Regions from separate parts of the Homo sapiens genome. Here regions 2, 3, 4, 5, 6 and 7 are each linked to region 1. Evidence: promoter capture Hi-C in 16 types of primary human blood cells and fetal thymus (Javierre and others, 2016). All regions are on one chromosome and are shown on one strand. Each heading gives the region's core, a stretch centred on a gene start or on the middle of the fragment in contact. The rest is flanking DNA. Distances are from core to core; before and after follow the strand shown. Region 1 holds the start of CRTC3 (CREB regulated transcription coactivator 3). Region 2 overlaps BLM (BLM RecQ like helicase). Region 3 has its middle 33 kb from the start of NGRN. Region 4 overlaps BLM (BLM RecQ like helicase). Region 5 has its middle 27 kb from the start of ZNF774. Region 6 overlaps CRTC3-AS1 (CRTC3 antisense RNA 1). Region 7 overlaps ZNF774 (zinc finger protein 774).

What was found. The method cuts DNA at HindIII sites, captures the fragments that hold promoters and counts their contacts. A CHiCAGO score of 5 or more calls a contact.
Region 2: a contact is called between a fragment that was not itself captured here and the fragment with the promoter of CRTC3 in region 1, in 1 of 17 cell types (total B cells). The highest score is 5.3, in total B cells.
Region 3: a fragment that was not itself captured here is called in contact with the fragment with the promoter of CRTC3 in region 1 in 4 of 17 cell types (activated CD4 T cells, erythroblasts, endothelial precursors and 1 more); the score reaches 6.9 in activated CD4 T cells.
Region 4: a fragment that was not itself captured here is called in contact with the fragment with the promoter of CRTC3 in region 1 in 3 of 17 cell types (naive B cells, total B cells and activated CD4 T cells); the score reaches 7.2 in naive B cells.
Region 5: a fragment that was not itself captured here is called in contact with the fragment with the promoter of CRTC3 in region 1 in 15 of 17 cell types (activated CD4 T cells, naive CD8 T cells, total B cells and 12 more); the score reaches 11.7 in activated CD4 T cells.
Region 6: a contact is called between a fragment that was not itself captured here and the fragment with the promoter of CRTC3 in region 1, in 1 of 17 cell types (activated CD4 T cells). The highest score is 6.4, in activated CD4 T cells.
Region 7: a contact is called between a fragment that was not itself captured here and the fragment with the promoter of CRTC3 in region 1, in 6 of 17 cell types (total B cells, activated CD4 T cells, non-activated CD4 T cells and 3 more). The highest score is 8.1, in total B cells.

Annotation. Positions count from the first base shown.
Region 1 is chr15:90,528,268-90,531,789 of GRCh38, reverse strand. It overlaps CRTC3 (CREB regulated transcription coactivator 3), which reads right to left and starts at 1,867. Exons shown (of 15, transcript NM_022769.5): 1 at 1,587-1,867. The coding sequence starts at 1,718. RefSeq lists an enhancer at 764-923 and silencers at 1,314-1,493, 1,514-2,263, 2,364-2,413. The HindIII fragment of the contact is 15,096 bases long and covers 1-3,522 here.
Region 2 is chr15:90,771,942-90,775,463 of GRCh38, reverse strand. The region is part of intron 12 of BLM (BLM RecQ like helicase); the gene reads right to left. Among named protein-coding and RNA genes, the nearest start is that of BLM, 56 kb to the right of the region's middle. The HindIII fragment of the contact is 5,454 bases long and covers 1-3,522 here.
Region 3 is chr15:90,297,063-90,300,584 of GRCh38, reverse strand. It overlaps the pseudogene GOLGA2P8. Among named protein-coding and RNA genes, the nearest start is that of NGRN, 33 kb to the right of the region's middle. RefSeq lists a silencer at 272-464. The HindIII fragment of the contact is 8,093 bases long and covers 1-3,522 here.
Region 4 is chr15:90,734,082-90,737,603 of GRCh38, reverse strand. The region is part of intron 1 of BLM (BLM RecQ like helicase); the gene reads right to left. Among named protein-coding and RNA genes, the nearest start is that of BLM, 18 kb to the right of the region's middle. The HindIII fragment of the contact is 647 bases long and covers 1,500-2,146 here.
Region 5 is chr15:90,323,834-90,327,355 of GRCh38, reverse strand. No RefSeq gene overlaps it. Among named protein-coding and RNA genes, the nearest start is that of ZNF774, 27 kb to the left of the region's middle. The HindIII fragment of the contact is 8,593 bases long and covers 1-3,522 here.
Region 6 is chr15:90,711,202-90,714,723 of GRCh38, reverse strand. CRTC3-AS1 (CRTC3 antisense RNA 1) reads left to right here. Exons shown (of 4, transcript NR_120372.1): 2 at 1,425-1,557. Among named protein-coding and RNA genes, the nearest start is that of CRTC3-AS1, 4.2 kb to the left of the region's middle. The HindIII fragment of the contact is 3,528 bases long and covers 1-3,520 here.
Region 7 is chr15:90,358,713-90,362,234 of GRCh38, reverse strand. It overlaps ZNF774 (zinc finger protein 774), which reads right to left. Exons shown (of 4, transcript NM_001004309.3): 3 at 3,278-3,384; 4 at 1-2,192. The coding sequence ends at 952. Among named protein-coding and RNA genes, the nearest start is that of ZNF774, 8.2 kb to the right of the region's middle. The HindIII fragment of the contact is 336 bases long and covers 1,594-1,929 here.

The DNA.
Region 1 (3,522 bases), core at 618-3,117:
ACATAAACAATGTACAGTATGTATTTAAAAACACATAACAACACAGGCCCCAACACTAATCCTCAGCTTTCACCCACCCATTCTTTTCAACGTGCTCTGAGCTTATCGAGTTCATCTCTGAATCTAACCAAGGTCACAGATGTAAATGCCAGTGGATGCCAGGCAGGTAAAAAATGAGTGAAGCTGATAGGGTATAAGAAAACATTTTCTTGAAATCTTCAGCTTCTTTCTCTCTATATATATATTTTTTCTCAATGTGAACAGAAATGTAAGTACAGGAAATATTTCACTTTTTCCTTAACTTCACTGAAAGAAAACACCATCATGAGTATAAATGGCAACTGTCACCTAATCTCCCCTTGGGGGACTGTGACAGAGAGTGGACGGTGGCAAACTAGAGTTCTTACTCCATTTGAAAGGGAGCTCAGCTCAGCTCCCTTTCATCATCACCCAGCTCCAGCAGGTCGGTAGCTGTCATGTAGGAATTCAGAATTAGTGTTACCAGGTCTCCCAATTTTTAACATATATAAATAATAATAAATAAATAATACGGAAATTTGGATTTTGTGTGGAAGTCTTCCAATTTAAAAATTCTGGCAACAGATTCAATAATTTTTCCCAAACACTGCGCTGGCCAAAAAATAATGTGTCTGCAACTCAGCTGGTTTGCAACTCTGCTCTCAGCTCTCCTTCAAACTGTCTCCCCCGCCTCAGTCCCCCAGAATCTGCAGATCCTCCCCCATCCTCCCGATGGTCCTCCAAGGTCAGCATTCAGGATCCTCAAGGCCAGCCCCACTCCTGCTGACCCCCCTTCTCTGCAACCCTGCGCGGACACTCCGGTTGGCTCTCCATCCTCCACTGCCTCACTCAGCGGTTACCTAACCTCTCCAGGTGTTTGTCCCGGCTCGCGCCTTACTCATTCCTCCAGGTCCCTCTCCAGTCACCAGCGACGCTTGTCAGTTCTCACTAAATATCCCGGGCCGAACAAAGTAAACTGGACCCGATAAAGCACCTCCAAGGAGTAAAAGGAGCAGAGCCTCACACTCGACACGGAATCCCGTCGTGGTTCCAACAACCCGAGCCACCCCAGGGCCGGGCCCTGGATGGACTTGTGCACAGAGCTCCCCCCACGAGCGCGTGGGACCCTGGGGTGCCCGCGGCCTTCCACGCCGGCAGAACAGCAGGGCTCGATGGTGGGGGATGTTCGGAGCGACCAGAAGCCGCGCCGCGCCACCCGGCCGGCCTCCGAGCTGTTTGCGATTTCCTCTCGGGGCTCCTCGTCCTCCTCCCCCTCAGGCCGCCCTCGCACGGCCGCCCGCCTCCACGGGCTTCACCCCTGCCCATCTTCCCGCACACGGGGCCGGGCGACCCTCCCACCTCAGCCCGGGATCGCGAACGGCTAGCGGGTGTCGCCAGGCGGGGAAACGCCGAGGCCGCGGCCGCTCCGGTCCCCCTCCCAGCCGCCGGTTCCCGGGCGCGGCCCCCGCCCGGCCCCGCCATCGCCTTGGCCCCGCAACCTCTCACCCGCCGCGCGGGTCCCGCCCGCGGCCGTGGCCGCCCCCGCCCGCGCCGGCCCGGGCCCTCACCCGCGACAGGGTGAGGTCGGTCATGAGCTGCTCGAAGGCCCGCGTCTCCTCGGCCTGTCTCTGCGTGTGCAGCGCGATCTTCTCACTGAACTTCCGCGGGTTGGCGCTGCCCGAGCCCGGCGAGGCGGCCATGGCGCGGACTCTGCGCGGGCAGAAGCGGGAGACGGCGGCCGTGGGGCCTGTACCTCGGCCCACCCGTCCGTCCACAGGCCGCCGGGGCCGCCGCCCGAAGCCAGTCGTCCGGCGCGACCCGGCAGAGGAGCCGCCGCGGCCCCGGAGCCAGCGAGCGGCCGGGAGCGCGCCGAGGTCCGCCCCCGTGCGCCCGGCCCCGCCCCACCCTCGGCGGGGCCCGCCCGGCCTCCAGTCTGCCCCGGCCCCACGCTCGCGGGCTGAGGGCTGCTCCCCGCTTCCCGGTCTGGCTCGGGACCCGCCGCCGGCGGCCACCTGGAGGGACCCCCGTCAGCCCGACAAAGTGGCCCCGGCGTACGGGGAACGCTGGGGTGCCACTCCACGGAGACTCTCCGACCCAGGGATGGCCTCTGCGTCTACGCGACGTGGAGAACACAGCCTGTGCCCGCATCCCCCCTCCCCCAGCCAAATTACGAAGATTTTCTTCTCCAGGTGGAACCTGGGCGACCGGACCTCGAGCAGGTCACCTCGGGCCCCCGCAGGGGGTGCGCCCATTTTGCCTGGGGCCTAACGTCTGCCCGCCAGCCCTGCCGCTCCAGGCCCCCGGCCTCCAGCCGCTGGTTTCCTGACCTCTCACACCCACCCCTCCCCGCTCCAGTCAACCAGAGCTGTATCTCGGCTTTAAAAACTGCCTCCTATTCTGCACAAACTACAAACACCATCCAGCCCTGCTGCAGCCTTGGCTCCATAGCCCCGGCCCCCTTTCCAGGTTCTTTCCAAGTCTCCCTACGGCCTCTCCACTCCTGTGGCAGCTTCAGCAGGTGCCAGCCCCACCTTGGGAAACCAGCGCTCAGCCTCAGCGAATTTCCCCTTCTTTTGGGGGAGTGAATGGATGTCTTTCTCTGTCGCCCGGTCTGGAGTGTAGTGGTGCGATCTCGACTCACCGCGGCCTTGACCTCCCGGGCTCAAAAGATCCTCCCACCTCAGCCTCCCGACCAGCTGGGACCACAGGCGGGGGTCACCACGCCCGGCTAGTTTGTAAATGTTTTTGTAGCAATGGGGGGCGGGGGTGGGTCTCGCTATTTTGCCCAGGCTGGTCTCGAACGCCTGGGCTCAAGCGATCTGCCCACCTCAGCCTCCCAAAGTGCTGGGATAACAGGCGTGGGCCACAGTGCCCGGGGAGTTTCCTCTTTGGAGTCCAGAAGCTACTCTCAGCATAAATGTTGATGTGCACAAAGATGTCCCGGGGAGCCCTGAGCGTGTGTCAGTGTTCTGTAAAGAGGGAAATATTAGAGGCCTACGGAAGAGTACGGAAAATAATATTAATACTACCCACGCCCCCCACTATCAAGATTAAACAGACATCAATACATTTTGCTGCATGTACTTGGGATTTATTAAAGACATACAAAATTAGTCATAACGACGGCCCCACTCTCATTTCTTCTTCCGCCCCACAGATAGTCACCGTGCTCAAGTTGGTACATATCATTCCAGTTTGTGTTTTTATACTTTTATTACATATGATGTAGAGATCCAGCAATGCTATATGGAATACCTAATTTTGTTTTTAAACTTTACAAAAATGACACCATACTGAATAATCATTTTGCATCTTTTTTCATTCTCCATTATGTTTTCGAGATATATTTGTGTCAATTCATTTATATGATAATATTCCATTATGTTTTTCACCTGTCTCTCAGACATAGCCTATAACTGGACTTTTTAGAAAATGTATTCTGAAAATATATCTCTGTTAGCTAGAATTTAGCTATTTTTATTAATTATAATTGGATTTTTTTTT
Region 2 (3,522 bases), core at 612-3,111, 240 kb before region 1:
ATTATATATATATTTAAAACATATATGTATATATGCAGGAGGTACATAGTTTTCCAGGATTTTTTCAGGAGGTACATGTGACCAAAGAAGGTATGAAGATGGCTATCGTGGTCATCCACTCATCCCTTAAACATCCCAGGCATCATGCATCTAAAATCAAATTTATTACTCATCTTCCTTCCTCCATTCCATTTATGGTCAATGGTTCTAGGCACCTGCCCCAGGAACTAGTATAAACTTCAACCGTATCCACTCTTCTCATTCCATTTAGTTACCATTCCTGCCCTCTCTCTTGACTCTGTTTCTTCCTTCCACTTCTGCTGTTTCCACCAGCATCATCTCTCCTCAATGACTGCAATAGGCAATAAGTTCCTGAAGGGCTGCTCTACCTCTAACTTTCTGTTCTCTCACTCATCCTCTCCTCTATTCTCTTGCCAGGGTTATCATTCATCCACACAGTTCAGATCAAGCCACTTCCCAGGTTAAAGTGCCAAAAGAATAAAGTCCAAACATTTTACCATCGTTATATGCAAGATCCTCCATGATCTGGCGTCAAGCCACCTTGTCAGGGTCATCCCTTCTCTATGTTTCTCCACTTATCCAATGGATTATTCACCATTCCTTGGGCCTGACCTGTACTTTTTTTTTTTTTTTTTGGCTGGAGTGTAGTGGCATGATCTCGGCTCACTGCAACCTCCACTTTCTGGTTTCAAGCAATTCTCCTGTCTCAGCCTCCCGAGTAGCTGCGACTATAGGTGCATGCCACCACGCCCGGCTAATTTTTGTATTTTTAGTAGAGATGGGGTTTCACCATGTTGGCCAGGCTGGTCTCCAACTCCTGACCTCAGGTGATCCACCCGCCTCGGCCACCCAAAGTGCTGGGATTACAGGCATGAGCCACCGAGCCTGGCCTGACCTGTACTTTTATAACAGAAACTTCAGCCCTGAATTTTCACTCTTTGCCTGCTAAAATGCCGTTCACCTACCACTTCATATAGCTGTAATAAAAAAAGACAGTAACAAGTGTTGATAAGCATGTGGAAAAACTGCAACCCCCACACACTGCTGAAGGTAATATAAAATGATGGAGGCGGTCGGGTGCAGTGGCTCACACCTATAAGCCCAGCACTTTGGGAGGTCGAGATGGGTGGATCACCTGAGGTCAGGAGTTTGAGAACAGCCTGGCCAACATGGTGAAACCCCATCTCTACTAAAAATACAAAATTAGAAAAATACAAAAATACAAAAATAGTCCCAGCTACTTGGGAGGCTGAGGCAGGAGAATCGCTTGAACCCAGGAGGTGGAGGTTGTAGTGAGCCGAGATTGCACCACTGCACTCCAGCCTGGGTGACAGAGTGAGACTCCGCCTCAAAAAAAAAAAAAAAAAAAAAAAAAAGACGGAGGCACTTTGAAAACTAGTTTAGTAGTCCTTGAATTGAAAAGGTTAATCATACAGTTACCACAGACCCAGCAACCCAAGAGAAATAAAACTGATGACCACAGAACAACTTCTACACAAATGTTCACAGCAGCATTATTCAAAAAAACCAAAACACTGAAACAGCTTGAACATCCATCAAATGATGAATGGGCAAATAAAACAGAAAGTAGGATCCATAAAATGGAATATTATCTGAAAATAGAAAGGAATGAAATACTGAAAACAGGCTACAACATGGAGGAACCTTAAAAACATGCTCAGTGAAAGAAGTCAGTCACAAAAGGCCACATGTTATGTGATTCCATTTATATGAAATGTCCAGAATAGGCGCAAACCTACAGAGACAGAAAGTAGATGAGGGGTTGCCTAAGAATGGGGAAAGTGAGAAAGTAGGAATTGACTGCTAATGGGTATACTCTCCCTTTCAACAGAGACAAAAATGTTCTAAAATTAGATAATGGTGATGGCTGCACAACCTTATAAACTAAAAAAAAAAAAAAAAAAAAAAAAGGCCATTGAAGTGTCAACTTTAGGTGAATTTTATGGTATGTAAATTTTATTTCAATACAGCTGTTTAAGCCTTTTTTTGTTTGTTTGTTTTTCAGATGGAGTCTCGCTCTATCACCCAGGCTGGAGTGCAGTCGTATGATCTTGGATCACTGCAACCTCCGCCTCCCAGGTACAACCAATTTTCCTGTCTCAGCCTTTCAAGTAGCTGGTATTACAGGCGCCCACCACCACACCTGGTTAATTTTTATATTTTTAGTAGAGATGGGGTTTCAACATGTTGGCCAGGCTGGTCTTCAACTCCTGACCTCAGGTGATCCGTCTCCCTTGGCCTCCCAAAGTGCTGGGATTACAGCTGTGAGCCACTGCGCTCGGCTGCTGTCTACGCTTTTATCTTTTTTTTTTTTTTTTTTTTTTTTGAGACAGTCTCGCTCTTGTTGCCCAGGCTGGGGTGCAGTGGTGCAATCTCGGCTCCCTGCAACCTCCGCCTCCCGGGTTCAAGTGATTCTCCTGCCTCAGCTTCCCCAGTAGCTGGGATTACAGGTATGCACCACCAGGCCCGGCTAGTTTTGTATTTTTAGTAGAGACGGGGTTTCTCCTTGTTGGTCAGTCTGGTCTTGAACTCGTGACCTCAGGTGATCCGCCCACCTTGGCCTCCCAAAGTGCTGGGATTACAGGCGTGAGTCACCATGCCCAACCTATGCTTTTAAATAAACTACTCCTCCTACAATGCCCAGTGCCTTTACAAAACTTGATCTGACCCCTCCTTGTAACAGCTGTTACTGGGGGTTCTAGCTTATCTTGTCTTCTTCAGTTCCTGCAGCTGTAATTTACATCTCAAATCACTGCTTTCTTCTTTCTGCAATTTGACCTAGTATTTAAAGGATTCTGAAACCAGCTATCTGGTGTTTTAAGTTCTCACTCCAACCCTTGCTAGGCATATGAAGTTATATAATCTCTTTGTGTCTCAATTTCCTCACCTGTAGAATGAGGAAAATAGGAGTACCTACCTTGCTTTTGTGTGGACAAGGAGGTAAATACACTTAAAATGACAACAGTGCCTGGCACACTGAGTAGGCTGGATATGTAAGTGTTAGCTATTATTATTGTTCTATTATAGTTAACTCTATGTGCCTGTCTCTTTGCTCTCTTCCAGTTCATATTTTAAGGCCCTAAGGAAATGGAATAAAGCCTTTTTTGTGTGCCTTATATTTCCCAAAGAGGAAGAATATTATTACAGACTGGCGGGAGGAGAGCAGCACAGGGGCTGTGGCTTCAACCTTAGGAATACCTGACTTCGCCAGGGCCACGACATAGCAGCAGTTGAGCAAATTTAATCCAAACCAGGGCCTACTGGCAGAAAAGATCAGGAAACAGAGTCCCAGAAAGTATTCCTTAAAATTTCCTACTTCCAAATGCAGAGAAGTGCCAAACACATTAAGGAGTCAACAGACATGCCTACATTTTTACATTTACCCAAATTCCTTCACATTTTTCATTTATTGATTATTACTGAGTGCCAATTATGTACCAAGTGCTGGAGACTGGAAATCCACAACCTTGCTTTCCCAGG
Region 3 (3,522 bases), core at 291-2,790, 230 kb after region 1:
CCGAACAAACCAACTCCCATCAGCCTCTGCCTCTTAAATAACAATCATCATCATCCAGAAATTTAAGGACTCAGCCCTGGCCAGGGTGGCAAAGGGTCTGTTTGTCTCTCCCTATTAGACAGGGGTCTTGTCTTGCTACTCTAATGGTAAAGGGGTGACTGGGAAGGGGTGGCAGGGACATGGTGGGGGTGGAGCCTCTGGCCCCACTTCTCCAGGCTTTGCTGACAGGGGCCTGCTTTTGTTTTTATTTTTATCCCATGACTTTTTTTAATCACGTTTTTTCTGTAACTTTTTTTTTTTTTTTTTTTTTGAGATGGAGTCTTGCTCTGTTGCCCAGGCTGGAGTACAGTGGTGCCATCTGGGCTCACTGCAACCTCTGCCTTTCGGGTTCAAGCAATTCTCCTGCCTCAGCCTCCCGAATAGCTGGGATTACAGGCGCCCGCCACCACACCTGGCTAATTTTTTGTATTTTTAGTAGAGACAGGGTTTCACCATGTTGGCCAGGCTGGTCTTGAACTCCTGACCTCAGGTGATCTGCCCGCCTCAGCCTCCCAAAGTACTGGGATCCCAAAGTGGGTGGATCACCTGAGATAGGGAGTTTGAGACCAGCCTGACCAACATGGAGAAACCCATCTCTACTAAAAATACAAAATTAGCCAGGCGTGGTGGTGAATGCCTGTAATCCCAGCTACTTAGGAGGCTGAGGCAGGAGAATCTCTTGAACCTGGGAGGTGGAGGTTCCGGTGAGCTGAGATTGTGCCATTGCACTCCGGCCTGGGCAACAAGAACAAAACTCCGTCTCAAAAAAATAAAAATAAAAAAGTTTTGGAAATAAGTTGTGGGAAAAAAGTTATGGAAAAAGTTATGGAAAAATATTCCAAAAAAAGTTTTACGAAAAAAAGTTATGTGATAAATATTAAATAAATAAAAGCAGGCCACTTTCAGCAAAGCCTGGAGAAGTGTCTGATGGGGGAGACAGGTGAAGATGAGATGAAGATCGCGGTCATCCAAAAGCAGGGAACTAGGCCCAGGGCGGTAGCTCACACCTGTAAGCCCAGTGAGCCACTGACCATAACATTTTTTATCCCGTAACTTTTTTATCCCATAACGTAACTTTATCCCATAACTTTTTAATCTCATAACTTTTTAAATCTCATAACTTTTTTTAATCTCCTAACTTTTTAAAATCCCATAACTATTTTTTCAGTATGTGTTCTTTTGGTAAACACTTGCAGCCGGGCGCGGTGGCTCACGCCTGTAATCCCAGCACTTTGGGAGGCTGAGGTGGGCAGATCACGAGGTCAGGAGTTTGAGACCAGCCTGGCCAACATAGTGAAACCCCCATCTCTACTAAAAATACAAAAATTAGCTGGGCATGGTGGCGTGCACCTGTAGTCCCAGCTACTCGGGAGGCTGAGGCAGGAGAACTGCTTGAAACCAGGAGGTGGAGGTTGCAGTGAGCCGAGATCGTGCCACTGCACTCTGGCCTGGGCAACAGAGTGAAATTCCATCTCAAAATAAATAAATTAATTAATTAGTTAAATGCTTGCATAGTCATATTACAATTTTGTAAAAATAAAAACACTATTTCATGCCAAGCATGCCTGGCATTTGCACAATCTCAATACCTTTAATACTATAGTTTTCAAGACACACAAAATAAAAATTTAAGGCAAAAACAGCACTTTGCAACAATAATTTATTACATACAGTAGCATCACAGCAGTATTCAATAATGCCACTTTAGGCAAAAGTCTTTCAGTATTTCCATTATAGATTCTGTTTACAAGAATTCCTAAATTGGTAAGTCATTATAAGAAAACTTGGCAAATAAAGTTTTGGACTGGAATTGGCATTTCTTTCTTTACTTTTCCTTCCCCTAGTTTCTTTCTTTTAAGCTACAGTATTCATATTTTAAAATGTTTTAATTTATTTCAAAACATTAAAATAGCAGTTACATTTTTTAATAGTTATACTATTGTAAAATGACTAAGAAAGTTTTAGAGAAACTATATTCTGGATAAGGCTGATTTACATTTTCAAATTTTCTAGAAATCAGCTTTGGTTTTAACATTAGTTTTTCAGTTCTGGAAAACCTATTAGTATTAATCAAATACTTCAAAATGATTATCATATACTGCAACCTTTAAATAAACAAGTATTTTGATTCTTTACCTCCTACAGAAATTCAAATTTATTCGGTTGAACTCACATTTTAAAATTCTATGTTTCCATGAACTCTAACCTTCTAATGTTGCCTGCTAAGCAAATTGAAAGCTGTCTTATACTGAATGAGAAAGAGAACAAATATCTGGCTGAATGAGGTATTGCAAAAGACTGCATGCCCTTTGAAGAAAGACTTAAGTTATTATAATATGATTTCCATCCTTGTTAGCTTTTTCTTAAATATATGACAAAAATACCTACACAAAAAGTAGTATCTCAGTTAATATAGTAAATTTATTTCCAGACAGACATTCAGCTTAAGTATGCCGGTATGTGAGTTAATCCAGAGGTACCTGATGAACACATTATTGTCAGATTGATTACAGATGCTAAACGCTATCCGAAGGTCATTCCTAGTCATTTACATTTATCAATGTAAAAGTGAAGTGATTTGAACTATTAAAATACCTTTGAAATAATTTATCAATGTATCAGATAAACCCAGTTTCAGAATGATAAAGAAAAACTGTTAGACCAAATAATGTGGCTAATTGACAGTGGTACGATTTCTAGCCCGAGGGTTTAAAATGGACTTAAAGTAACTGTCTTTAAACTGAACTCAAAGAATGCAAAAGCAGCAAGTTCAGAAAATAAAAGGCAACAACAGGACCTTAAGTCCATTTTAAACCCTCGGGCTAGAAATCGTACCACTGTTAATTAGCCACATTATTTGGTCTAACAGTTTATCATTCTGAAACTAGGTTTATCTAATACATTAATAAATTCATACAATTTGGAAGAGTCAGTTGAAGTCACAAGGACCCAATATTTGCATTTTTTTCCGTGAATCCAGGCAAATCAGTTATTTTGTCTGAAAAATAATACTGCTTTCCTATTAATGTCATATTTATAAAAGTATCATGAGGATGCCAAATGGAGACGGTCTAGTAACTACAAATCCCCACACCAGGGAGCGCACATACATCTCTCCCTACATCCTAATAATGTGATGTATTTTGGAATACAGACATTAGAACTTCATGAGGTTTTAACTGTTGATTCTTTCCCAAGCATCATCAAGTTATGATTTAGGCAACATATGACTGAAATAATTCATTCATAATATATAGGCGCATTCACATAAATATTGCACAAAATATGCCTCTAACTGAAACTGAAAGGTACAAAAACATATTTCACTCTTCGTAAAGAACTTTCGGAGGAAGTAGGACTCTGTGATTGTACAGACACTTTTCCTGATAAGACTTTGACATTCACAAACAGTAGATTGCACTGCAGTTTGTAAACATTTTAAGTCGCATAAACTTCTCCTTGATTTTCAAATATAGAATAATA
Region 4 (3,522 bases), core at 574-3,073, 210 kb before region 1:
TCTCTTGTTTTCTTCTTTAATCCATTGGTTCCTCTGTCCTTTAAAGTGTTCCCATCAGGCACTTTCTTATTACCTGGCACAACATTCATGGTCTTCATTTACTTTTCCTGCTTCAGCCATAGAATCACCATTTCCTCAAACAGCCTTCATTTATTTTAATGAGGAAAAATCTTTAAAATCTAAGACCTGGCCATTAGATATGATCTGCTACTTGCATATCATTGCTCCTAGGCCCTTTTAGTAGACAGATCTAGGAAATATAAACACTTCTATCTATTTCTGTATCTACAGCTATACATCCATTGATCTATCCATCTATCTTAAAATTCATAGAAAAAACCATCATATATTTATTCATTTATTCAATCTGAAACTATAGGAAGTAATTTCAAATTGCTACACTCCTGTCACTAAAAAAAAAAAACCTACTAAGAAGAGTTCAAAATTCAGTTGCATTTCTTTCTTCAGATTAAGGGTACATAATTAAAGTACTATATTCAAAAGTTACTTGATTGGTCAGTCCCACCTCACCTTCAGGGTGATTACATTCATCATTTGAATTAGATTAGTTTGTGTTTGTACTGTTCTTGTGGATTTGATTTTTGAATATATAAAACATTTACATAGTTCTAAAAGTTAAAACTACATAAAAGACTGTTTTTCCCCACAGAGAAGTGTTCTTCCCTCTCCATCCTTTGCCATCTACTTCCTGTGGGTTATCAATTTCAATAATTTCTGATTTATCTTTCCTGTTTTTCTTTTTGCAAAATAAGCAGACATTAGAGTCTCATATTTTCCCTTCTTTCTTACATAAAAAATAGCACACTGTATGTACGCTTTCCATTCATGTTAGAAATCACTCTACACCCGTTTGCAAAGATTTTCCTCATTCTTCTTTACAGCTGTACAGTACTCCATTGTGTAGATATTTACCAACAAATTTCCTGTATGGACATTTAAGGTATTCCCTGATATTTTACAATTACAAATAATGCTGCAACAAATAACTTTGTGCATTCATATTTCCCTACTGTTGAAAACGTAAGGCCGGGCACGGTGGCTCACACCTGTCATCCCAGCAATTTGGGAGGCAGAGACAGGATTGCTTGAGTCCAGGAGTTCAAGACCAGCCTGGGCAACATGGTGAGACTCCGTCTCTATAAAAAAAATTTTTAAATTAGTAAGGCGTGGTGGCATGCACTTGTGGTCCCAGCTACTCCAGAGGCCAAGGTGGGATCAATTGAGCCTGGGAGTTTGAGCTGCAGTGAGCCAAGATCACACTACTGCACTTCAGCCTGGGCAACAAGCAAGACCCTGTCTCAAAAAAAAAGGAAAGAAAGAAAAGAAAATGTATCTTTAGGGAATATTTCTACAAGTGGAATGGCTGGGTCAAAGGGCAAATGCATGTGTAGTCTGCTGGATTGCCAACTTCTCCCTCAAAGGAGGTTTTACAAGTTTGCATTCCTCACAGCCTCACCAATGGGGCTTCTTGTGAAGCTTTCTAATTAGTGCAGAGCTGATAGGTGAGAAACGGTATTTCAGTGCAGCTTTAAATTTACACTTCCTGTTTAGGTGAAATTGAATATTTTCTTCACATATTTAAGGATGGTTTTTGAATCTTTTTAAAAAATTGTATCTGCTCATGTATTCTGCCTTTTTAACCAAATTTTAGTATTTTTTTCTCTCAATTTAGACTAGGGATAGTAGGTCTTTAAAATGTATTTTGCAGATTTTTTTCCTGGTTTCTCATCTATCTTTTAAATTTGCTTATGGTGTTTTTCATTTTTGTAATCAAGAATTTGCTTTTCAATGTAGCCAATTTTTCCCCCTCTTTTATTGCCCTTCTCCACATCCAGGTTACAGAAAACTCATCTATGTATTCTTCTAGTAGGTAATTTAAAAAAAATTAGATTTCTGGTTCATTTGGAGTTTATTCCTGTGTCTGATATAAAGTATAGATATAATTTTGTTTTTTCAAGTGGCTAACAAGTTGTCCCAGCACTATTTATAAAGAGTCCATCTCTGCCCTAATAATTTCAGAACTACCTTTATCATACACTAAATTCTTCATGTGTTTAGGAGACTAATTATTGACTTTCCATTCTATACCATTGGTCTATACCACAATATTATCATGATAGAAGCTTTGCAACATGTTACAATATCTGGAAGTCTACTTTCTCTTTGTAGCTCTTCTGTTTTCCTATTCTTATATGTTTATTTTTCTATATGAACTTTAGAATCAACTTGTCTAGTGCCAGAACTCTGTTGATATTTATATTGAGATTGCATTAAATTTATATATTAACTTAGGTATATGTATTAACTTAAATATATATATATATATATATATATATATATATATATTAACTTAGGCACTTTTATGATGTTGTTGTCCTGTCCTAGAACAAAAGATTTCATTTGTTTAAGGCTATTTTTGTTATTCAGAAGTGTTTTAAAGATTTCTTCACCTAGGTTTTACATGTTTTTAAATTCCTAAATATTTTCTCTTTTTCTTGTTGCTGTAAATGGGATTTTACCCTTCATTATATATTCAAACTTGTTGTGTATATGAAGACTACTGATTTTTGCATATTCTTATAAAATTCCTTTTCTGTTTAGTTAGTTTCATTATTGATTTTCTGCAGTATTCCAGACACACTACCATATCACCTGCAAGTAGGGACAATATTACTTTTTATTTTCCAAATCTTGTGCCTCTAATTGATTTATCTAACTGCATTGGCTAAGCCCCCAGTACAATGTTAAATACAAGTGGAGTTGGTGAGTATCTCTATATTTTTCTCAATCTTAGTAAAAATGCCTCTAGTATTTTCCTATTAGATAAAATACAGGATTTAGGAATAAAGTCTCTCTCTCTCTCTCTCTCTCTCTCTCTCTCTCTCTGCGTGTGTGTGTGTGTGTGTGCGTGCGTGCGCGCGTGTGTGTGTATGTGTGCGTGAGAGACAGAGACAGAGAGAGAGAGAGAGAATACCATCATTAAGAAGTATTGATTGGCCAGGCATGGTGGCTCACATCTGTAATCCCAGCATTTTGGGAGGCCGAGGTGGGCAGATCACCTGAGGTCAGGACTTTGAGACCAGCCTGGCCAAGATGGTGAAACCGCATCTCTACTAAAAATACAAAAATTAGCCAGGTGTGGTGGTGGGCGCCTGTAATCCCAGCGACTTGGGAGGCTGAGGCAGGAGAATGGCTTGAACCTGGGAGGTGGAGGTTGCAGTGAGCTGAGGTCATGCTACTGTACTTCAGCCTGGGCGACAGGGTGAGACTCCATCTCAAAAAAAAAAAAAGAAGTATTGATTACAATATAATTTCTTAAGAGTTTTTACTATATATTGGTGTTGAATCTTGTCAAAGGCTTTTTCAGCATATATAAAAGTAAATATATGACTGTTCTCCTTAGGTTAATTAATATGGTGAATTACATTGATGATTCTAATGTTAAACCATCTTTGCATTCCTGGTATACATCTTGGTGATGAGCTAATAGTTTTGTAATAG
Region 5 (3,522 bases), core at 599-3,098, 200 kb after region 1:
TCTGTTGCTCAGGCTGGAATACAATGGTGTGATCATAGCTCACTGCAGCCTTGACCTCCCAGGTTCAAGTTATCCTCCCACCTCAGTTTCTGGAATACCTGGGATTACAAGCGTGTGCCACCATGCCTGACTATTTTATTTTATTTTATTCTATTTTATTTTATTTTTGGAGAGAGAGGGTCTCACTATGTTGCTCAGGCTAGCGTCAAACTGCTGGGCTCAAGCAATCCTCCCACCTCGGCCTCCCAAAGTGCTGGGATTACAGGTGTGAGCCACTATGCCTGGCCTCTAAGATTTTAACTACTCTAAGTACCTCATATAAGCTGACTCGTACAGTATTTGTCTTTGTCTGACTGGCTTATTTCACTTATAATGTTCTCAGATTTCACCTGTCTCAAAAAATAAAATAAAATAATATTGATTGAGACTTAATTTGTAGCCTGACCTACCAACACCTGCCTCACGCACAGCACGCCCATCTAGATTTCAATTGTAGTTGCTATGCGTATGGTGGCTCAGTTCAGCTGGGCTCAATTCCTGGTGCTGATTGTAATGCTACTTTGGGAAGCTAAGGAAGGGGGATTGCTTGAACCCAGGAGTCAAGGCTGTAGTGAGCCATGATTGTGCCACTGCACTCCAGCCTGGGTGACAGAGCAAGACCTTGTTTCAAAAAAAAAAAAAAAGGAAGAAATGATTACAACCATCGATTAGTCATTAGTGCCATGCCTTAGCTGAGAACTTCTTCTCTGGGCCATTCTGCAGCCCTCTGGAATGGCTTTAGGACCTGGCTACCAGGCTCCCCTTATCCCAGTGTCTTGCTCTCATCCTCAGTGGCTTCAGCATACTTATTTATTTTATTATTTTTTTTGGTGGGGGGACGGAGTTTCGCTATTGTCGCCCAGGCTGGAGTCCAATGGCACGATCTCAGCTTGCTGCAACCTCCGTGTCCCGGGTTCAAGTGATTCTCCTGCCTCAGCCCCCTGAGTAGTTGGGATTATAGGTGCCCGCCACACACCCAGCTAATTTTTTGTATTTTTAGTAGAGATGGGGTTTCACCACGTTGGCCAGGCTGGTCTAGAACTCCTGACCTCAAGTGATCCACCTGCCGTGGCCTCCTGAAGTGCTGGGATTACAGGTGTGAGCCACCGTGCCCGGCCTCATCCTTATTAATTACAGCACCACCACCTGTGCTCATGGTCCCTTTACCTCCTCTGCTCCAGTAACCTCGAAAGGCCAGCCACATCACAGAGCTGCTTCCATTTCAGCCTCTCAACTCCATCTCTCCTTTTCCCTTAGAATAACTGGGGCTGCCCATTATCCTTGCCACAGCCTCCTCTGCTTCCTTGCTTATTGTTCCTTTTCTACCTCCTCCCTCAGTCTGGACTCCACGGTCGGCTCTTCAACCATGTTCCTGCTAGTGGCTTACGGTTCCTGTTCTCCAACTTTCTAATCTACCTACTGTGTCATCCCCAAGCAGGGGATTCCCTGCCATCTACTTCTGCAACTCTCAGGCTGGCAGAAGTGGCCTCCATGCTGCCCAGTCAGAAGGGCCTGTGTGGCCAACACAGCTGCCGCCCCAGTTCCATCCTTCATTCTCTTTCCTTCCAGTTGTCCAGGCCTTGCCATCTGACTGGCCTGGAGAGTAGGGAAGAGATGGGGAAAACAAAGGAGGGGTGCAAACATCTGGAGCTCAGTGCCCTGGTCTGCTCAGCCTGGGGGAGATTCTCCTCCCTCCTCTTCCTCCCCTGCTCTGTTCCTTCACCTTCTTCCGCCTTGAGGACTCCCTGATTCCCTTATATATCCATGAAAACTTTTACATCACTAAATAAATTGCCTTTTTTTTTTTAAATGAAGTCTCTCTCTGTTGCCCAGGCTGAAGGGCAGTGGCATGATCTCGGCTCACTGCAACCTCCGCCTCTTGGGTTCAAGTGATTCTCCCACCTCAACCTCCCGAGTAGCTGGGATTACAGGCGTGCGCTACCATGCCTGGTTGACTTTTTTTTTTTTTTTTTTTTTTTGGATTTTTAGTAGAAACAGGGTTTTACCATGTTGGCCAGTCTGGTCTCAAACTCTTGACCTCAAGAGATCTGCCCACCTGGGCCTCCCAAAGTGCTGGGATTACAGGTGTGAGCCACCATGCCCCAGTGAAATTGCTTAATTTCACAAACATTTTGAGAGTCAACTGGGAACTGTCAACCTAGAAGGAAGCTGAAGCAAAATTAATATAAGTAGAGAATTTATCTGGGGCTGGGCATAGTGGTACACTCCTGTAATCGAGGATTCTGGGAGGCTGAGTTGGGAGGATTGCTTGCCAGGAGTTTGAGAACAGCCTGGGCAGCATAGTGAAACCCCATCTGTACAAAAAATTTAAAAATTAGCCAGGCATGGTGGCTCATGTCTGTAGTCCCAGCTACTCAGGAGGCTGAAGCAGGAGGATTGCTTGAGCCCAGGAGTTCGAGGTTATGGTGAGCTAAGATCCTGCCACTGCACTCCAGTCTGGGCAACAGGAGCAAGACCTTTTCTCTTAAAAAAAAATAAATAACAATAGTAAGACAGAGGATCTATTTGGGCCAAGCTAGATATTGCAAACTGGGAGCATAGAGTCAAGTTACCCTCAGTATACATCCTGATTAGCAGCAGTTGTGAGGCAGGAGGCAGGCCTGTACTCCAGGCCAGATTGAAGACTAGCTGAAACAGGGAAGAGGGGAAAGCACCTCTCCATAACACATGCCCACCAGTGCCATGTCAGTTTACCAGTGCCCTGGCAACACCCAGAAGTTACTGCCCCTTTCCATGGCAACAACCTGGGAGTTATACCCTTTTCCTAGAAATTTCTGAAAAACCCATCCCTTAATTTGCATGTAATTAAAAGTGGGTATAAATATGACTGTGGAACTGCCCCTTAGCTGCTACTCTCCACACACTGACTATGGGCTAGCTCTTCCTGCAGGAGCAGTTACAGAGCGGTAACACTGCTGCCTCAATAAAACTGGTTTTGGTGGCGGGGCGTGGTGGCTCACACCTGTAATCCCAGCACTTTGGGAGGCCGAGGTGGGTGAATCACCTGAGGTCAGGAGTTCAAGACAAGCCTGACCAACATGGTGAAAATACAAAATACAAAAATTACTAAATTATTATTATTACTAAAAATAATAGCCTCCCAAGTAGCTGGGATTACAGGCATGCACCACCACCCCCTGCTAATTTTGTCTTTTTAGTAGAGACGGGGATTTCACCATGTTGTCACCTTGGTCTCGAACTCCTGACCTCAAGTTGTCCACCTCACCTTGGCCTCCCAGAGTGCTAGGATTATAGGCGTGAGCCACCGCGCACAGTCAAGAAACCTCTTTTCTACAAATAAATAAATAAAAAATTAGCCAGGTGTTGTGGTGCCCATCTGTAGTCCCAGCTACTCAGAAGGCTGAGGTGGGAGGATCGCTTGAGCCCAGGAGGTCAAGGCTGCACTGGGCTGTGATCATGCCACTGCACTCCAGCCTGGGAAACAAAGCAGGACCCTTTCTT
Region 6 (3,522 bases), core at 507-3,006, 180 kb before region 1:
TTTTTTTCTGTATTACAAAGTAATAGGAGGATGAACTACTGGTACATACAATATAGATGAAGCTCAGACACTATGCTGAGCACAAAAAGAGGTAGATAAAAGAGTATATAGGGCCGGGCGCAGTGGCTCACGCCTGTAATCCCAGCACTTTGGGAGGCCGAGGTGGGTGGATCACGAGGTCAGGAGATTTGAGACCATCCTGGCTAACACGGTGAAACCCTGTCTCTACTAAAAAATACAAAAAAATCAGTCAGGCATGGTGGCGGACGCCTGTAGTCCCAGCTACTCAGGAGGCTGAGGCAGGAGAATGGTGTGAACCTGGGAGGCGGAGCTTGCAGTGAGCCGAGATCACGCCACTGCACTCCAGCCTGGGCGACAGAGCAAGACTCCATCTCAAAAAAAAAAGAGAAAAAGAGTATATAGTGCATACCAGGTTACCCCTGGAGGCAGAGGTAGATGAGGAAGCTCCCAAGGAAATCTTATGGAGTGCTGGAAATTACATATCTGTCTTATATAGACATTTAATATAGATAAAGTAATATATAAATCATTTATATATAAAATCATTATATACATACAATCATTGAGATATGTATTTTTTCAATTTTTTAAAATTTATTTTTATTTTTTGAGACAGGGTCTGCCTCTGTTGCCCAGACTGGAATGCAGTGGTGCCATCTTGGCTCAGTGCAACCTCCACCTCCCAGGCTCAAGTAATTCACCCACCTCAGCCTCCTGAGTAGCTAGGACCACAGGCACATGCCACCACGCCTGGGTAATTTTTGTATTTTTAGTAGAAATGGGGTTTTGCCATGTTGCCCAGGCTGGTCTCAAACTCCTGGCCTTAGGCGATCTGCCAGCCTCAGCCTCCAAAAGTGCTGGGATTACAGCCGTGAGCCTCCTTGCCTGGCCAAGGTATATATTTAAGATTAAGATGAGTGCACAAGCCTTTCACCACCCTACGCTAACATCTACCTTCCAGGTGGGAGGTAAAGGTTGCAGTGAGCTGAGATCACACCACTGCACTCCACCCTGGGCAGCAGTGAGAATCTGTCTCAAAAAAAAAAAAAACACAGAATCCTTCCAGCAGCTCCCATTTGCCTTCAAGGTGAATACCAAACTCCGATTGAGTCCCTGCTTCCTCTCATATGTCATCTGTCCCTCATCCCCATTTTCCTGTCATTTCCTCAAGGTGTTTTATAGTCTTTCCAGTTTCCTGGCCTTTGCCTCCAAATCATACCTCTCATTCATCTCTCAGGTCTCAGGACAACTTCTCTGCAAGTTGTTGGAGAAGTTGGGAAGTTGGAAAGCCTTACCTAATCCTCCAAATCTGCCTGTGTATCCCTCCTAGGTTTTCCCATAACAGCAGTCAGCATTTGTATTGGTTGTGTTGATACTATTAGTGTGCCTGTCTTCCTCTACAGAATATGCTCTCCATGAGGGTGTTCTTCAGGGCCTACCACAATGGCTGGCACTAGAGAAGGGCACAAAATTGAAGAACAGTGAAGACAAAAGCAATAAGATGATTAAGGCCATGTGAGACAGCAACAATATCAGGTGAATGTCACCCTTTATCGAGTTGTGAGTATCCAGCCTCTCACTTTGGGGGATACTGTTTGAGCCTAAGTAACATTAGTGGCTTTATTCATTTGGTAGATTGTTTGTATCTTTGCGTTGTCTCTATCCTGCTTTTTCCTTGGCCATTTTGCTATTAAAAATCTGTTGATTTACTCTGCATTTTCCCATAGAGAAGGGTAGCCTGAGGAGTTATTTAACAATGATGTGTTTTGGCCAGGCGCGGTGGCTCATGCCTGTAATCCCAGCACTTTGGGAGGCCGAGGCAGGCAGATCACGAGGTCAGGACATTGAGACCATCGTGGCTAACATGGTGAAACGCCGTCTCTACTAAAAATACAAAAATTAGCCAGGTGTCATGGCACACGCCTGTAGTCCCAGCTACTCGGGAGGCTGAGGCAGGAGAATGGCATGAACCTGGGAGGTGGAGCTTGCAGTGAGCCGAGATCGCGCCACTGCACTCCAGCCTGGGGCACAGAGCGAGACTCCGTCTCAAAAAAAAAAAAAAAAAAAAAAGGTGTGTTTTGTTTTTGCAACAAGTAAAAATTGACATATTTCACCCACATGTTCATTAACAGATGAATGAATAAACAAAATGTGGTATATCTAATAAGCTGGGCACAGTGGCCCACACCTGTAATCCCAGCAGTTTGGGAGGCTGAGGTGGGTGGATCACTTGAAGTCAGGAGTTCCAGACCAGCCTGGCCAACATAGTGAAACCCTGTCTCTACTAAAAATACAAAAAAGTTAGCCGGGCATGGTGGCGTGTTCCTGTAACCCCAGCTACTCGGGAGGCTGAGGCAGGAGAATTGCTTGAACCTGGCAGGTGGAGGTTGTAGTGAGCCAAGATCGTGCCACTGCACTCCAGCCTGGGCAACAGAGCGAGGCTCCATCTCAAAAAAAAAAAAAAAAAAAGTAGTATATCCATACAGTGGAGTATCATTCGGCCATGAAAAGGAGTGAAGCTCTGACACATGCTACAACATTCTGAGTCAAATATGCCAACACAAAAAAACAAATACGATCTGACTCCATTTATATGAAAGATTTTGAATAGGCAAATTCATAGAGACAGAAAGTAGATTAGAGGTTTCAGGAACTGAGAGTAGGAAGGAGGGAAGAATGAGGAATTATTGCTTACTGGGTTCATAGTTTCCATTTGGGGGGATGAAAAAGTTTAGAAATTGTGGCAATGGCTGTACAGCATTTTGAATGTAATTAATGCCATTGAGTTCTACTCATAAAAAGGTTAAAATGGCAGTTTATTTCATACATATTTTACCACACACACAAAAAGCAGTTGCTGTGGAAAAAAAAAACACACACACAACATATTTTACACACACACAAAAGCTCCAATCAAAACAGAAATAGATTTTCAGTTTTTCTTAAAAAAGAGGAAAGAAGAAAGGGAGGGAGGGTGTGAGGGAAGGAGAGAAGGAGGGAAGGAAGGAGAGAGGGAAGAAGAGAGGAAGGTACAGAAAGAAAAGAAAGATCTAGCATCATCACAGGGCCCACATTCCCTCAAGAGAACAATAGGCTGAAACAAGTGTGGCTTCTCACGTGTCCCTGGAGGCATCTGAGTTTGTTTCATGTTTCCCCCATCAGTGACAATTTGCACCTGCTCGTGTAGAGAGGTACCTGTGAAACAGAGGCCAGCATTAATAAGGGGGTGGAGAGGAGAGACTGCCAAAGCCTTGCAGAGACAGAAAAAAAAAGTGTGGTTTTCCAGGACTGAAAACTCAGTCGCAGCAGCCCCTCTCTCAGTTGTACCTGTAGGATTTTAATTTATAGAAGCGACTGACTGATGACAGAGAGACTAGTGGCTTTGAAGGAATAATTTATCCACATTTCCTGAGAGGAGGGACACACCACGCCATGCAGGGCCACATGGAGAAGAAGCACCAGGTTTGGTCAGGAGGCAGAAGGGAGTGAAGGGAAAGCTTA
Region 7 (3,522 bases), core at 512-3,011, 170 kb after region 1:
CGATAATTTGGCCTTGTCATGGCAGTGAGACCTCTGGTGACTAATGCCTGCACAGCACTGAACTGGCAGTGCATTTCCATTTTATTCAATTTGTGTATTCCAACCCCAAACCTTCTAGTTCCAATCTAATTTCTTTCACGTTCTGAGTTTGGGGCGGGGGGACTACACTAATAAATTTCTAATTGAGTAATAAGACTGATAAAAGCCACCAATCTTGTACTGAGTGTCTTTTAAGGGCCAGGTACTGCATTAAAGCCTTTATATAAGACCTCAACTATTAATCATTAATAATGATGGGACCATTTAGTTATTGAGCATCTATGTTGTGCCAGGCACTGTACTAGGTGGTGAACATGTGATCTCTAGGCCACATTTTTCTCACTTCTCATTTAGTAACTAGGCATCAACTTTTTAATTTTTTTGGAGACAGAGTCTCTCTCTGTTGCCCAGGCTGGAGTGCAGTGGCATGATCTCAACTCACTGCAACCTGCACCTTCTGAGTTCAAATGATTCTTCTGCCTCGGCCTCCCGAGTAGCTGGGACTACAGGCACGTGCCACCATGCCCAGCTAATTTTTGCATTTTTAGTAGAGATGAGGTTTCACCATGCTCACCAGGCTGGTCTCAACTCCTGACCTCAAGTGATCCACCCACCTTGGCCTCCCAAAAGTGCTGGGATTACAGGGGTGAGCCACCACGCCTGGCGGGCATCAACTATTAAACTCACATTTCCCTAAGAGTCAGTCACACACTGAAGGAATGCCTTTTGTATTCGGACCGTTATTTGGACCCTTTAAGTTTATCCTCTCTGTTATAACATAGACAAGAAAGAGGGAGAATAGATCAGGGCCCAAATTGAGCCACTGACGCCCAGGTTTTCTCTATTTGGGGTGCTTGAAGACAGTAGCAATGAAAATGTGCAAGGGAGCAGCTGAACACCAAAGACTACTTCCTAAATCAAATGGGTGTTTTGATGGCATAAAAGATGCGCTTTCTGACGGAAGCTCTTGTTACATTTACTACAGTGGAAAGGTTTTTCTCCTGTATGCGTTCTCTGGTGTGTGAGGAAATGGGAACGCTGATTGAAGGTCTTGCCACACTCAGGACATCGATAGGGCCTGTCTCCTAAGTGGATTCGCTGATGGGTAATAAAGTGGGAGCTCTGATTGAAGCTCTTCCCACACTCTCCACATTTGTAGGGTCTTTCTCCGGTGTGGATTCGTTGGTGCTTAATGAGGGCGGAGCTGTCGGCGAATCCTTTCCCACAGTTTTCGCACTTAAAAGGTCTCTCACCTGTGTGTGTTCTTTGGTGCGTGACCAAATGTGAGCTCTGACTGAAGCTTTTGTGGCAGTCAGGACAACTGAAAGGCCTCTCTCCTGAATGAGTGCTCATGTGAGCTACAAAATGAGAACTATCTCTGAAGCCCTTCCCGCACTCCGGGCATTTGAAGGGCCGTTCTCCCGTGTGGGTTCGTTGGTGCTTAATCAAATCCGAGCTCTGGCTAAAACTCTCCCCACAGTCATTACACCTGTAAGGCTTCACCCCTGTGTGGGTCCTCTGGTGAGTGATGAAATTTGAGCTTCGACTGAAGCTTTTGTGACATTCCAGGCACGCGTAGGGCTTCTCGCCTGTGTGGGTTCTTTGGTGCATTATGAGGTGTGGCTTCCGCCCAAAAGTCTTTCCACACTCTGGGCACTCATAGGGTCTCTCCCCTGTGTGGGTTCTCTGATGTTTGATGAGTGTTGAGCTGTCGCTGAATTTCTTCTCACACCCCTTGCATTGGTAGGGCTTCTCTCCTGTGTGTGTTCTGCGATGGGTGACAAGGTCTGAGCTCTGTTTGAAGCCTTTCCCACACTCAATGCACGTATAGGGCCTCTCGCCAGTGTGGGTTCTTAGGTGTCTTATGAGATAGGAACTCTGGTTAAAGCTTTTCCCGCATTCTGCACACATAGGCTTCTCTCCTACATATCCATCCAGGAGCTTGTTTAAATCCCTCTCCTGTGAAAAGGACTCCAGCTGGCCCTCTCCTGGAAGGGTTCCATGTTGCCCTTCTAATTCTAGGCCTTGCTCCCAGTTTCCTCCCCAACTAAGAGTATGAGAAAGATCTTTATTGGTCCTTTCTGAGGATGTTCCACATTGTTCTGCTGTTTCAGAATTGTCCTGATTGAGCTTTGCCACCTGATGCTCACAGTCTGAAAAATTAATGTAAGTAACAGAGAATAAAGTTATCAGTTATCAGGAAGGAATATCAGAAAGCAGTGACAAAGATTAAAATCCCTGTTTCTGCAGCAGACTGCACTTAATTCAACCGCTCTGTTTTCACTTTGTGAAAAGTTTATTGAGGTTCATTGAGCTGTCAGAACACGTGAATTCCTAAACTTTTTAAATTTTAAGATGGCCAGATGAATCTTGATATCCTTCAAGCGGAGACCACATATTGTCAATATTGTGCGGTTTCTTTAGAAGATATTATAGGTTTAGGCCAGGCGTGGTGGCTCACGCCTATAATCCCAGCACTTCGGGAGGCCGAGGCAGGCAGATCACTTGAGGTTGGGAGTTCGAGACCAACCTGGCCAACGTGGTGAAACTCCATCCCTACTAAAAATATGAAAATTAGCTGGGCGTGGTGGCGGGTGCCTATAGTCCCAGCTACTTGGGAGGCTGAGGCAGGACAATCACTTGAACCCGGGAGGCGGAGGTTGCAGTGAGCAGAGATTGTGTCACTGCACTCCAGGCTGGGAGACAGAGGGAGACTCCATCTCAAAAAAAAACATAGGTTAGACAAAAGTGAAATGCTTAATCAAAATGAAGACTTTATTTAGTCAACTACTGACCATTAAGTCAAATTTAAATGTCTGCTAGTGGCCGGGCGCGGTGGCTCACGCCTGTAATCCCAGCACTTTGGGAGGCCGAGGCGGGTGGATCATGAGGTCAGGAGATCGAGACCATCCTGGCTAACAAGGTGAAACCCCGTCTCTACTAAAAATACAAAAAATTAGCCGGGCGCGGTGGCGGGCGCCTGTAGTCCCAGCTACTCGGGAGGCTGAGGCAGGAGAATGGCGTGAACCCGGGAAGCGGAGCTTGCAGTGAGCCGAGATTGCGCCACTGCAGTCCGCAGTCCGGCCTGGGCGACAGAGCGAGACTCCGTCTCAAAAAAAAAAAAAAAAAAAAAATGTCTGCTAGTAAGAACAAAATTCTAAGGCAGCATTCCAAATTCTTCATCTAAACAAGGCTGAAATGCTAGATTTCCTTCCACTGGGGAGCACTCACATCTCACCTGTGTGGCTTTCCCTCGGGATCTTCCTCGCCTCAAAGTTTTGGAGTGGTAGGACCCATGGCTCTTCTTTCTGCTCCGGCTGGGAGATTACACTAGGCCTGGAAATTCTACACAGGAATGTAAACATAGGATGTGAGTCTGAGCCAATCACACAAGGCCTGAGCAAAATCCAAGCCCTACTCCCTGCCTAGGTATGGAAGAACACCTGGGGAGCTCTAACGTGTATTTGGTGTCATTAAAAAAGT